Regions from separate parts of the Homo sapiens genome. Here region 1 is linked to region 2. The links are contacts of gene promoters, found by promoter capture Hi-C in human tissues and cell types (Jung and others, 2019). All regions are on one chromosome and are shown on one strand. The core of a region is centred on a gene start or on the middle of the fragment in contact, and the rest is flanking DNA. Distances in the headings are between cores, read along the strand shown. Region 1 has its middle 220 kb from the start of TFAP2C. Region 2 holds the start of TFAP2C (transcription factor AP-2 gamma).

Evidence for each region. Contacts are between HindIII fragments. The study calls those that stand out against the background at their distance.
Region 1: a contact is called between a fragment that was not itself captured here and the fragment with the promoter of TFAP2C in region 2, in 1 of the 25 tissues and cell types used here (H1 embryonic stem cells).

The regions. Positions count from the first base shown.
Region 1 is chr20:56,848,372-56,855,108 of GRCh38, reverse strand. No RefSeq gene overlaps it. Among named protein-coding and RNA genes, the nearest start is that of TFAP2C, 220 kb to the right of the region's middle. RefSeq lists a silencer at 6,395-6,540. The HindIII fragment of the contact is 7,669 bases long and covers 1,183-6,737 here.
Region 2 is chr20:56,627,932-56,635,025 of GRCh38, reverse strand. It overlaps TFAP2C (transcription factor AP-2 gamma), which reads right to left and starts at 5,720. Exons shown (of 7, transcript NM_003222.4): 1 at 5,434-5,720; 2 at 3,336-3,821; 3 at 3,170-3,221; 4 at 1,457-1,673; 5 at 758-876. The coding sequence starts at 5,481. RefSeq lists silencers at 5,399-5,693, 5,750-5,809. The HindIII fragment of the contact is 13,903 bases long and covers 1-7,094 here.

The sequences.
Region 1 (6,737 bases), core at 3,768-6,267, 220 kb before region 2:
AGACCAGCCTGGCCAACATAGTGAAACCACGTTTCTTTTAAAAATACAAAAAATTAGCCTGGCATGGTGGCGCACGTCTGTGGTCCCAGCTGCTCGAGAGGCCGAGGCAGGAGAATCGCTGGAACCTAGGAGGCAGAGGTTGCAGTGGGCCGAAATTGTGACACTGCACTCCAGCCTGGGTGACAGAGTGAGACTCTGTATCAAATAATGATAATAAAAATAAAGAACACCGTGTTATTGTGTGTTGGTGTTCTCATGTCTCTTCTACTAAAATGAATTCAGGACACTGTTGGAGGAAGTGCAAATTGAGGAGGGCTTCAGGGAAAGCTCTTAAGCACTGCACTCAAAATTTAAAATGCACGACTCTTTCACCCCCAACATGCAGAAAGTATCCAATGTCTTTCCTCCCACCAATGTGCAAGGATCTGTGGGATCCTGCATGTTCATCTTAGCAGCGTTTGAAGAACAAATCCTGCTCAGCTACCTAGAAAGATGTCACCTTGGCCAGCTACACCATAACCTTTTTGGTCTCAGTTTCCTCATCTGTAAACCAGGGTAATAATGGAACCCACTTCCCAGAAGTTTCAGGGGAATTACATGAGTTCATGGGTGTAAAGCGCTTAAAGCGAGCCTGGTGCACAGCAGGGCCTTGAAAATGCTGGCTCGGCACAGAGGTATTTTCTCATTCAACACACACTTGCTGAGCACCTACAGTGAACGGAGCACTGTCCTCAGCCAGGAAATATACAGAAGGGAACAAGACAAGGCCCTTGCCCTTGGGGAGCTTCCAATCCAGTGCAGGAGACAGAAAATAAATAGGGCCATGTGCTGTGCACTATCAGGGAAGGCCCAGAGGACAAGGGACAGAGAGTGCTGGCAGGGAAGGAAGGGCGCTGTTTCAGCAGCGGTCCAGGAATTGCCTCTTAGGAGATAACATTTGAGCAGAAACTGGAAGGAAGAAAAGAAAGAAAGAGGGAGGGAGGGAGGGAGGGAGGAGACAAGGAGGAAGTTCTAACCCAGTAGTTTCCTTTTCTTTTCTTTTTTTTGAGATGGAGTCTTGCTCTGTCACCTGGGCTGGAGTGCAGTGCCGCCATCTCGGCTCACTGCAACCTCCGCCTCCCAGGTTCAAGCAATTCTCCTGCCTCAGCCTCCCAAGGAGCTGGGATTACAGGTGCCTGCTGCCACGCCCAGCTAATTTTTTTTTTTTTTTTTAAAGTAAAGACGGGGTTTCACTATATTGACCAGGCTGGTCTCAAACTCATGACCTCAAGTGATCCACCGGTCTCGGCTTCCCAAAGTGCTGGAATTACAGGCGTGAGCCACCACGCCCGGCCCTAACCCAGTAGTTTTCAACTGGGTGACATTGCCCCCCAGGGGACATTTGCCAATGACTGGAGACATTTTTTGTTGTCACAACTAGGGCCCCCAGTAGTGAGAAATGTTGCTGGCAACTAGTGGATAGAGTCCAGGGATACTGCTAAACATGCCACACAAGACACACCCCTATAACGAAAAGCCGTCCAGCCCAAAATGTCACTAGTGCTGAGGCCGGCAAGGCCAGCTCCAACTCCCGTTTTTTTTCTATGCCTGTATATTTTTTAGTAACAAAAATGACATCATGCCATACATTATAATTTGTAAACTGCAATGATATATTGGAATTGTATGTATCAAAAAAGCATATCGATTTTATAACTCTTTAAAAACTGCATCACAGTCCAGGATATGCAATACTATATAGTAGAATTTACTGATTTACTATTGATGGGCTTTTAGGTTAATTCCAATTTTTCACTGTTGAAAAAAACCCTGGCCAGGCACAGTGGCTCATGCCCGTAATCCCAGCACTGTGGGAGACCAAGGAGGGTGGATTGCTTGAGCCCAGAAGTTTGAGACCAGCCTGCACAACGTGGCAAAACCTTGTCTCTACAAAAAAACACAAACAAAAACTTAACTGAGCATGGTGGCACAGGCCTTGGCTCCAGCTACCCTCGGAGGCTGAGATGGGAGGATCGCTTGAGCCCGGGAGGCAGAGGTTGGGGTGAGCTGTGATCATGCCATTGCACTCCAGCCTGGGTGGCAGAGTGAGACCTCGTCTCAAAAACAAAATCAAAAAACAACCCTCTGATACACAGCCTCATCCCAAATCTGCTTACCCATCCACAACTCTTTCCCTAGGATCAATCCTATAGAGACAATTGTTGGGTTGAGAGTAAGCAGGACTTGAAGGCTGTCACTGCAAACCGAACAAGGCTGTAGTGTAGACCCCAGGCAGCCTGGGTTTGTAGTTACCAGATACTTGACCTTGGGCAGGTTACTTCATTGTGCCTTAGTGGTCTTGTCTGTGAAATGGACTTAAAGATAGTTCCTACCTCTTAACGGTGGTTTGGAGGCCTAGCGAAAGAATGTAAGGCCCACAACACAGTGACCAGTGCCCAGCCTGGGTGTCGCTCTGCAGAGAGCCCCCTACCTCCACCTTACCCCCACTTTACACATTCAAAACAGTGAGGATCAAGACGGCCCTTTTCCCTCCGTAGCTGCCACAGCAGGAGTTATTGACCTCGTTCATCTTTGCCAATCAGATCACCAAAACTGATATCACATTTTAAAAACTGGTAATGTACCAAGGGGTCCCCAGCAGGCGTGTGAATAAAGGGGTAATTTGACAGGTGGCAAGGTGAGGTGGGGGGAGTTAGTGCAGGGGCAGCTGTGTAATGGGCAAACGTCCTGTCTGGAGTATCTGTATCTCCTCCAAGTAAATGCCTAAAAAAGCATCATCTGTCAAAAATCCAGAGTCTAACGTGATCACATCCGCCGGTTACATGGTTAAGACACACGGCATGCTATCTCTCAGTCACTGAAGGGCAAGTAGGTTTATGAGCTGATCTGCTCAACTGTACGTTGTAACATTTTTGGCTGCCTATTTTAGTCAAAGCAATGAGTTTTTCTTGGGAGTGTAAAAGTAGACCTATTGAATAAACAAACTGAGATTCTCGCCTCACCTCATATGGCAAAATGTATTCCTGGTGGACCAAAGATTAAAATGTTAAATAAGCAAGCAAACAAATAATGTAAATAGTGAAACTAAAAGGAATAGAAAAATAACTATGAATTAATATTTTATAATCTTGGGGATAAAAAGAGTCTCAAAGCATGGTACTAAGGACTAAAACCATAAAAAACATTTTTAATTACCTAAAAATTAAACTCTGAATAGCAAATAAAAAAGTATAAGCAAGTTGAAAAATAACTAAATTGGGGAAATATGAAAAAGGTGACAAACATATTGTGTAGAGCCTTAATATGTAAAGAGTAATTGCTAATCAATAACAGACAGTCAAATATACTAATAGGATGTAAACAAGCAAATACTTAAACAAGAGATACAAATGACAAAGGTACATGAAAATATAACCACTTCAATTAATTCAATGCCCACCACATTGTAGATGTTCGGTAAAATAGTTGTTTGTATGTGAATCTGTCCTGAGTCACATAATATAAGCTCACTGAGCCCTTATCTGGAGATCCAGAGAGTTAGGACAAGAACAAAGCTCAGCTCTGTTCCCAGGCCTGCAGAAAGTCACTGCGGCAGCCACTGAAGAAGTCCTTGCCACTTACTAGCTGTGTGACTTTGGCAAGTTCCTTAACTTCTCTTTGCCTAAGAAGTTGAGTAAATGAGAATAAACAGGGATAGTAATAATGCCTACCTCATAAGACTGTTGCAAAGATCAGCAAGTTAATACACGTAAAGTACTTAGAACAGCGCCTAGCTCATCAAAAAGACTCAACTGCAAAGTTCAGAAATAAAGCTAATTGGGAAGCAAGGAAACACCCATCCATTCATTGATCCGCTCATTCAACAGTTAGTCAGTGCCTAGCATGTGCCAGGTATTAGCATGGCTGTGATGGATGCTCATGCCACAATAAGACAGAAACTGAAGCAATCACAGTAAATGAGAAATGATCTCTGTTAGGGAAAACACCTTGTTGGTGAAGGAACCCCAGACTGGGTGCCTGACCTAGTCCCTCCTCAGGGGGAAACGTTCGGGAGAAGGAGCTTTTAGAACTGAGCCCTGAAAGTTAAGTAGGTGTTTTCCAAGAGAAGAATGTTCCAGGCATAAAAAGCAGTCAAGCAAACTCTCAGATGTGCAAGAGAATGCAAAACAATTTCAGTCCATGTCTTCTCACAGTGTAGACCTGTCATTAAGGGGGTGGGTTTGGAGTCAGACTGTCCAAAGTACATCCAGGCTCTACCAACTTTCCTGTGTGGTGTGTGTGTATGTGTGTGTGTGACCACAGACTCTTGCTCGGTTTTTCTCTGTCTCAGTATTCTCACCTGTAAAATGGGGATAAAAGTGGTTTGTCTCCTGGGAGTTGAGAGGTTTGCTGATTTCAGACATGTGACACACCTATCACGGGGCTGGCATGTCAGGAAAGCACTGGACAGGCCACTAGGCTGGAAAGATGACCTTTGGAGGACATTTTAAATCAGGTGTAAACTGACTCCTAAAGGCCACTGCTCATAAGTGAGGAATTTCCACAACCAGAAGCTGGCCTTCTCAAATCACCCTCGGGATGATTCTAATTCAAGGTTTCTCAGCTACCTCACTTCACTGTCAACATTTAGAGCCAGATTATTCTTTTTTTTTTTTTTTTTTTTTTTTTTTTTTGAGACAGAGTCTCACTCTTGTTGCCCAGGCTAGAGTTCAATGGCATGATCTTTGCTCACTGCAACCTCTGCCTCCCGGGTTCAAGCAATTCTCCTGTCTCAGCCTCCCGTGTAGCTGAGATTACAGGTGCCTGCCACCAAGCCTGGCTAATTTTTATATTTTCAGTAAAGGCGTGGTTTCGCCATGTTGGCCAGACTAGTCTTGAACTCCTGACCTCAAATGATACACCCACCTCAGCCTCCCAAAGTGCTGGTATAATGGGCGTGAACCACCGTGCCCGGCCAAGCCAGATTATTCTTTAACTTGGGGTAGGCTAGGGGTTGTCCCGGGCACTGTAGGATGTTCAGCAGCATCCCTGGCTTTACCCCAGCTGCCAGTATTGAGCGCACCACCACCACCACCACCACCACCACCAACAACAACGACCCAGTTTTGATCACCAAAACTGTCTCCAGGCATTGCCAAATGCCTCCTGTGGGCAAAACCACCCCATTAGGATCCATTCCTCCAAGCCAGTGCAGGATCTTCTGGGAAAAGCCCAGCTTGGTAGGGTAGTCCCTTCTACATCAGAAAGAAATGACCACAGTGGCGATCGACTGCTCACTGGATGTCCACAGGCCAAATTCAAGCCTCACATGTGTTTTCTTTGACCCAGGAGACATTTAACAATCTCCTTCAATGGGCTGACAATAGATTCTTAAAAATCAAGCCATTTCACATAAAAATCCAGCTTTCTGGCTTCTCTTGAAAAATGAGGATTCCTGGTAACACTGGATCCGCATTCCTCATGCAGCAGCAACGAGGTTGCATCTGCTGCACTCAGGGATACAGGCTTCCTGTTTGCCACAGTCCTCGGCACTCTATACCATATGTGCCCTATATTTGAAGGACCAGAGTCACTTTCTCTCTATCCCATCCCATTTTCACATTTATACAACCTTGCTGGCGGCTGAACATGTTTGAATTGAGATCTCCTGATCTAATGTGCTTGCCTGCACACACACACATTTGCACACATTACATATACACATGCACACAACCATATAAATATATAAACACATACACATGCGCACACATGCACATGAGTATACATATAACAACATGTATACACACATAGGCATACATGCATAGACACATAAATGCACATACACACCTACATATATACGCCTGCACACATGCACACACACATATACATGTGCACACATGCATACATGCATGTACACACATATACACATACACACGTGAACACTACCTACACATATGCACACACATACATATGCACACAAACGAATATACACATACATACATACACACATGCATATGTGCACACACCTATGTGTATAGACATATCTATATGCACACACACATGCATGCACGCAGACTCTCACACCCACGCAGACCCCATGGCTCACCTCCGCCGTCCACTGCAGCCCAGGACACACAGCATCCCTGATGCACACACCTGGATGTCAGGCTCTGACCTTTGAAGTCACGACTCCCACCACGGGGGCCCTTTGCATGTCACGCTGGATTGATGGATGGGACAGCTCAGCTCTCAGAAACTACCGCGTGTGTTTATTATGGCAATGAGTGTGGGCCGGGCCTGCTTCTGGCTTGTGTAAGTGTCAACTGGTGACAACCTGTGCTCTACAGAAGGCAGATGTCAAGGGGCTGGGGGCAGTGGAGTCACCGCCCGCACTGTGGAGACCACCCAGAGGCAGCACTCACACTGGCCCTGGCTTCCCCGGCCTTTGGCGAGAAAACTAAAGGATGGAGAGGGAGACATGGTGCCACCAGGACAGGCCTGCCACAAAGGCTGCAGCCCGTCGTGAGCCAGGCCAGGAGCAGCCAGACATTGCCCCCTGAGAGCTGCTTCTGCCTGGAAGACTCCACCGGCTCCGGGCAATAATTCAGTTCCATTCTCTCCAGAAGATTCCCAGGCCCAGCTCCTGTCCCCCTTGAGGCCACATGCTCAATCAGAAGGACAGTTCCTCACCTCTGCTTGAATAATAGTGACAATGTACTGAGGTCTGACAGGTACCAGGCACTTTCTGTTCACTTCAA
Region 2 (7,094 bases), core at 4,471-6,970:
TGAGAGCCCTAAGCCTCTCTCAGCGTCCAACTCTTCCCGGGAGCAGTAACAACATGCTTTGTTTTGTTTTTAAAAAATTATTTTACTTTCCCTTCAGCTCCTTTTAAAGGTTGTGTTGCATTCTTGGCTACTGTCCAGGTTGGGGTAAAGGGGCCCCCCATTCAAGAAACTGAAATGCTATGTCCTACTATCTTAGCACTGGCAAGAGGAACTTGTGCGTGGGCCAGGGGTTCGATTAGTTTTTTTCTTTGGATGGGAGGGAAGAATAGAATTGTGAATCGGGCCAGTCGTATTGTATACAAGAGGTTCTCTTCACTGACCACAATCCCCAGCTACAAAATAACCCACAGCTACAAAAAACAGAAGCAGTACTTCTGCTCACCAGTAAGTAACCAGCTTTTACTCAAGGTGTACCAAATGATCAGCTGTTATCTTCCAAAAAAACTGGTTCATTTAACAGGAAATGCCGACACCCCTAGAGTGTGATTTCTTAGGTTAGGAAAACCAGTTTCTTTCCAACATTGATTCTCTGGGGGAATACAGAAGAGCCTACCTGAGCAACCAGATACTTAAATGTTAACTTATTCGATAAAATTAACTGTGATTCATTCCAATAAACTTAGAGAACAATTCCAATTGCTTTCATCTCTACTTGCAACCAAGTTTTAAGAGTTGTTTTCCAGTTTTTCTGCAATAAGTATTAAAGACACAGGCACAAATTAAAAACATCACGAACCAAAAACAAAACCCCACTGACCTTCTACTAAGGATGTCAGGAGAGTCACATGAGCGGCTTTCCGCCTCCCGGCCGGAAGATTCAACCCAATCTTGTCCAACTTCTCCCGCAAGGACCGGCCTCCATTTTTCGATTTGGCTCTAAGAAAAAGAAAAATTGACTCTGGCTACTCTCAAAAACAAAAACACATACACACGCACACTTTAAAAATTCTAAACTCCTAAAGTGCTGCTGTCAAAGCTGAAACCCATCAAAGACTATCTACATCACGTGAACCATAATGAAAAGTGATAGCAGGGTCCTCTTTCAATTAGTCCCCGTAAGATACAAAATCAATCTTTCCTAGCATCCAACTCTGCATCACCGAATATTTCAAATTGTATGGGAGCAGACAAATTTTCACTTGTGAAACTACAACGGCCCCACAAAAACTCCCTGGGGAACAAACCCAGGGTGCTCCCCCCACCTCCCCTCAATACAGATGCTATCACTTCATACATGGGATCAAATTCTAACCAAGTGAGAATTTGTGAGCGTCGTTTTAGCACTTCCTCCCACATTTGGCACTTTCTAAAGGAGAAGAAATGTACTAAAACTCTAACCCGATTAGAATTCAGTGTTAGGCATAAAGTCACATAAATGTTAAAAATACCTCCTGGGCCTCTGATACACTCACCTTCAACTACCCAACCACTATGCCTAGAATTGTGCCCCAAGTACCTTCTGAGAACACCTCCCAGTAACGAGGCATTTAAGCATTCAGGTGGGGACAGTCGCCTCTGTACTTCAGCCACTGTCACTTTGTATTTAGACGTAGAGCTGAGGAGCGACAATCTTCCAGGGACTGAGCAGAAGACCTCAGTGGGGTTCATTACGGCCCCCACCAGCTCCTTCTGACAGGGGAGGTTCAGAGGGTTCTTGGTCATGGAAATGGGACCTGTGAATGAAGGTCAGAGCTGGCAGTCACAAGAGCTCTCTCTGAGCAAAAGAGACCTTTTCAAAACCAATAACCAAAGCTGAAAGTGATCTTTAGACAAGCATCATTGCACACCCCACGATCAACTGCAGGCTGACTTTATTTAAAAAAAAAAAATAATAAGAGTCTCACTCTGTGGCCCAGGCTGGAGTGCAGTGGTGTGATCTCTGCTCACTGCAGCCTCAGCTTGCGGGCTCAAGTAATTCTCCAGCAGGTGCCCACCACTACATCCAGCTAATTTTTTGTATTTTTAGTAGAGATGGAGTTTCACCATGTTAGCCAGGCTGGTCTCAAACTCCTGACCTCAAGTGATCTGCCCACCTTGGCCTCCCAAAGTGCTGGGATTAGAGGTGTCAGCCACTGCACCTGGCCATGGCTGACTTTTTAAAAAAGCCCCCTACTTCAGAGACAAATCTAATCTGAAATTCACAAGTTAACACCTTGGGAAGTTAATTAGTGAAGATCCAAAGCTTGGAGGGTTTCTTTTTTTTTTTTTCCTAGCAGCTGCTGAAAACTATTTAATTAGAACATTTGTTTTCAGAAGACTGCTTCAATACTAAATAAACGGTGAGTTTTTTCCCCTCAAGAACAACCAAAATCATAGGACACATTAAGATTCTTTCCAAAATTTTTCAGTGCAGTTGATCACAGTAAATTTAATCATCCAAACTAATACGTTCTAAGTTTACTGAAAATTTGTAGTCTTTTCTGAGTTTTTCTTTAAAATCCATTTTTCCTCCATCCTCAATCCATTTAAGCAGTTCAAGTAACAGGCCAAAACTACCTTCAATTTAGGCCTACTCTATTTCCCAAAACAGTCAAAATGGTAATCCTGGTAATCCTGTCAGTTAAGTAACTTAATTTCATAAACCACTCACTCACCAAGTAATCCAATTTTCCAAATCCCCTCCTCCCCATCCTGCAAAACTCTCCCTCTGACAGATCATTCCAAGCTCTGTTCCTTTTACAGGTATTCATTTGGTAGGCCAAATTGCTTCAAAACTTTTCTTGCAGGTCAGAATTAAGGAGGTTTTCCATACACGTGTTTGAAATCAAAAATAAAATCACAACTTATTCAACAATTAAAATTGTTACAGAACCAACCACTCAACGAAGGTGTGCCTGTGACTTTTTTCTTGTTGTTTTTCAAGTTAAATCAGTGTTCACTCGCTCTGGAAGACTTTCTCTCACATTGTGAAACACCCACTGGAATTCATGGACATTTTTCCAAGAAAAAAAACTAGGCAGTAACAACTCCGGAGATGAAGAGACAGCTCCTAGGAGGTCGGAGGGAAATCCCTTTCTGTCACTCCTAAAATCTAGCTTCCATGAATCCCTTTCAGTCCCTTCTACCACAAATGTCCCACGCTGGCCACCAAATACCCCCAACCTTGCCAGTCAACTTCACAAGCCCAGATCGTGTGACCAGAGTTAGACGATGCCACCTTGCTATTTACCTTTGCGAATGACTGTCTGATCGTGCAGCAACAGGTGCTGGTCGTCGACATTCTGGGGGAGAGAGGACAAAATTCCCTTAAGTTCGGGGGAGCCTAGAGGAGTGCGGGGTGGGGGCAGAAGGCCGTAGGGTGAACAGGTCCGGTCAGGAGCCGCAGCGCCGCTCACCTGCACCTCGTCCATCTGGTGAGGCATGTCGTGGAGCCCCAGGTTCTCGGCCAGGCCCGCGGCATCCAGGGCGTGTGCGTGGGGCAGCAGCAGGTCGGAGCGGCGGTAGGCATCCCTGCGGGCGCTCACCGCGCCCGCCTCCAGCCCGGAGAGGTGGGGCAGTAGGCCGGCCGGGCGCCCGTGGTGCGAGGGCAGCCCCGCTCCCTCCTGGCTCTGGCGGCCGGGCCAGGCCTGCTGCTGGCTGCCTGTGGGCGCCGGCTGGTGCAGGGGGTTGATGGCGGCGGCGTACGCTTCCCCCAGATGCGAGTAGGGGTCGGCCGACTGGGAGTAGGCCAGCTGCTGGTAGGGAGGGGGAAAGTAGGGTGGCGGCTGATATTCGGCGACTCCAGTGTGGGAGAGGGGTGGCGCGGGGCTGTAGAGGTGCTGCCCGGCGGAGGAGAGGTGGGGGACCCGCGGATTCCCATTGCTGCTCCCGTCGTGGCGATCCTGGAGGGAAAAAAAAAAACAGGAGACCCCGTTAGTGCGAAACCCCGCTACTGCGAACTGGCCGGCATCGCCGGGCTACGCAGAGGGCCCCGGGGGACCAACCGCACCCCGCCCGGCGGGGCTTGCCCAGGGTCGGAAGGTACCCGGGGGCAATGCGCCCCGAGGATTTCGTTGTAAGCAAAGAGTGCGGGGAGGGAGGAGAGTCTGGTGAAAGACCTGGGGGAACGAGTTCTCAAAGCCCGGCGGCGAAGGTCTAGGCGCTGCTCCCAAGCCCGAGGCGCTTGGAGGCGCCAAGTCCGAACCCTGGGTCTTGGGCCAGAAAAGTCCGTGGCCGGAGCCCGGGGCGAAGGAGCCAGAGCCCGGGGCGAAGGAGCCGGACGCCCGGTGCAGAGCTATCTCGTGGAGCCCGCCCATGACGCAGGGACTGCTGGAGGTGGCAGCGCGGCAGGCGCGGATAGAGTGCGCGGCGCGGGAAATGCGCACCTCCCCCGCCCCCGGGACCCTCCCTTCCACGCCCTCGGGACAAAGACCTCCGAGCGGGCGGCGCTCGGAAAGCAGGGCCCGCCACCCTGCGCCGCCCTGGGAAGTGAAGAGGGAGCGCGCGCACAGGGCGGCCCTCCCTGCTGGCCGGGCCCAGCCGAGGGGAGTAATAAGTGGGGGCGCCCTGCACTGCCAAGGGCAGTGTTCTCGCACGTCGGGGCGCAGAGGGGGCATGAAGAACCCTGGAAATTGGGCAGCCTTGCCCGCGCACGTTCCCTCGCCCCTGGGCGGCCCGACTCAGTTTCTAAAGGATGCGTCCCCATCTGCCCAGGGGTCTCGGGGCGCCGGGAACCTGGAGGAACATGGCGCTGTCGCCTCCTGGCGGAAGCGCCCGGGCCTGCGGGCAGGGGCAGCCCTCCAGGGCCCGGAGGCGCAGTGAACTCCCGCGAGTCCGTAGCCCGAGCTCCGCGCTCCCGGCGCCCCTGAGCTCGCCTAGCGCTGCCTGCGTCTTCTTCCTCTTCCCGCTCGCCGCCTCCTTCTTCCCTCCCACTCTCCGAAACTCTAGCTCAACCTGTCCGACAGGCTGGAGCACTCGCGAGCTCTTACGGCCCCATCTGGCCTCGGGCACCCCCACCACCACTCCCCAGCCCCCACTTCTTTTGAAAGCCAAACTTCGGTTGTTTTCGTGCTTCCCCGAGGAGGTAGCGGGGCAGGTGACAAGCCGGCCTTGGAGGAGTGTCCGCCAAGGTGTCGCTAGCAGGTAGCCTCATCTGACCCCTTTGGACAGAGACTTCGTGCGTAAAAGCCACGTCTGAGGGTTGCAGACGGGGCACTTTTCCGAGAAAACGGGAAGCAGGGCTGTTTGCCGCTTAGGAAAGCGCCCGGTAAGCTGTGTGGGTGGGATTTGCCATTCTCTTTCCAGGCCTCGTTCCCGAGGGGAGGCTATTTAGGAAAAGGCCCTATACAGGAAAGGGGCCCCGCAGAAATGGACTAAGGGGTGTCCGGAGAAGTGGATCCCGTCCCACCGAGAGGCCAGGGCTCCTATGCCCTCGTCCCCGACCTCGGTCCAGTGGCCCCTGCCTCCCGGACTGTCCTCGGCGGGGCGGGGCTGCACCCCGGAGCCCCAGCTCACCTCGCAGTCCTCTTCGTACTTGACATTATCGGTTATTTTCCACAACATGGCGTCCGGCGTCCCCCAAAACAGTCGCCAGTTAAATCCAGGATCCCCCCAGCCCCCAAGCGGTAAATCCAAAATCGGGGTCACGGTGACCAGGCGTCTGCCGCCGCCCCCGCCGCGCGCGGGCCTTGCTGTCCGGGTCACTGGACACGCATCGGCGGCTCTGCGAGCGTAGATGCTGCCGCCGCGAGTGTCAAGACCGCTCCGCGGACGGGGAAAGCCGCGCCCGAACAGTGTGTCCTGGCGATAGCCGGGGGACCCGAGCGCCTTAATGAGAAGGAAATTATCATAACTCCTCCCCGGGGGCCGGCGCGGAGGCCCAGGCGCCGGGCGGGGCGGCCCCCAGCCAGTCCCAGCCTAGCTCCGCCCCGCACCCGGGCCTGGCGCAGCGCCGAGCCCCACGCTGTGAGGGACGAAGCGCGGAGTCAGTGGGCGGTGCCTCGTTGACAGCCGAAGACCTGCGAGGCCTGGGTCCCCCGACGCGCCTTCCTTCTGTCACCTCCACCGTAAACACACCTGAGATTGGCAGAGCTGGGGGAAGGGATCCAAATACTGAAACCCACCCCTCTTTCGCCTAAACGGCCTTCACTCGTTCCTCCAAAAGACGGATGTCACCTGGAGTTAAGAAACTGCGCATTTGGGGAGCGACTCAACAACCGGGGTCTCCTCATCTCCTAAAAACACATCCCATCCCACCTACACCCCACTGAGGCTTAAGGTCTGAGCTGGGATCATGCAGCTGGAGCCCCAGTGCGCCAGAGACGCCCAGTTCCCTCCGTGGGCACAGCGCGGTCCCGGCCCCCGGGCGGGAGGAGAGAGGAAGGGACTCCTGGGGAGTCTGCCCCAAGGGCCGCAGAGGCAGCAGACGGTCCTACCCGCCCAGGAGTTGCGGACAGCGGCGTCTCGCCGCTGTCGCCCGAAGTGGCATCTCCCGCGGCTGGCTGAGGCCAGGGGGAACCCGCGCGCACTGGACCAGCCCAGCGGCCCGGCCCTGCCCTGCCCTGCGGAACGCCGGCTCTGCAGCTGCCTCTGGCGGGCCGGTCACTCAGAAGCCTCTACTCGCCCTGGGAAAGAAGCGCCGGGCAGGAATAAAACCCGAGCGCCACGGGTAAGGTGAGGGTGAGGAGGTGCAGGAAGTTGGGAGAGAGCCTGCAGAGAGCTCTCGACTGGAGAGGTAGACACCCAGGTCCCACATGTTTAGACAGAAAACGAAACTTCCTTCCACACAAACGCTGCTTCCCTCTCCCCTTCGGTACTTGCCACCCAAACTTGAAAGCAAAGTGCAATACTAATTTTTAAAATTTAAACTAACGAAATTCTTTGGCCCAGTTATTATGCAGCAATTGACTTTCATTGTAAGGGGAACATCGCTAATTCTCGAGGGCGTATTTGTTGGGACGCCCCAACTGGCTCCCTGGGCTGGATTTAAACATTCTGTGGGGATTAGAGGACAAGACTATTTCTATTTGATACTGAATACGATTTTGCAATAATCAATGCCTATCAGTACGGTGTCCGCACCTGCAGTAGACATGACTCTCCCATCCACGGAATGGCGGCATCCACTGCCTCGCTGTTCCTTCTCGGGTTCGTTTGAACTTTAGCATTTATTTAGA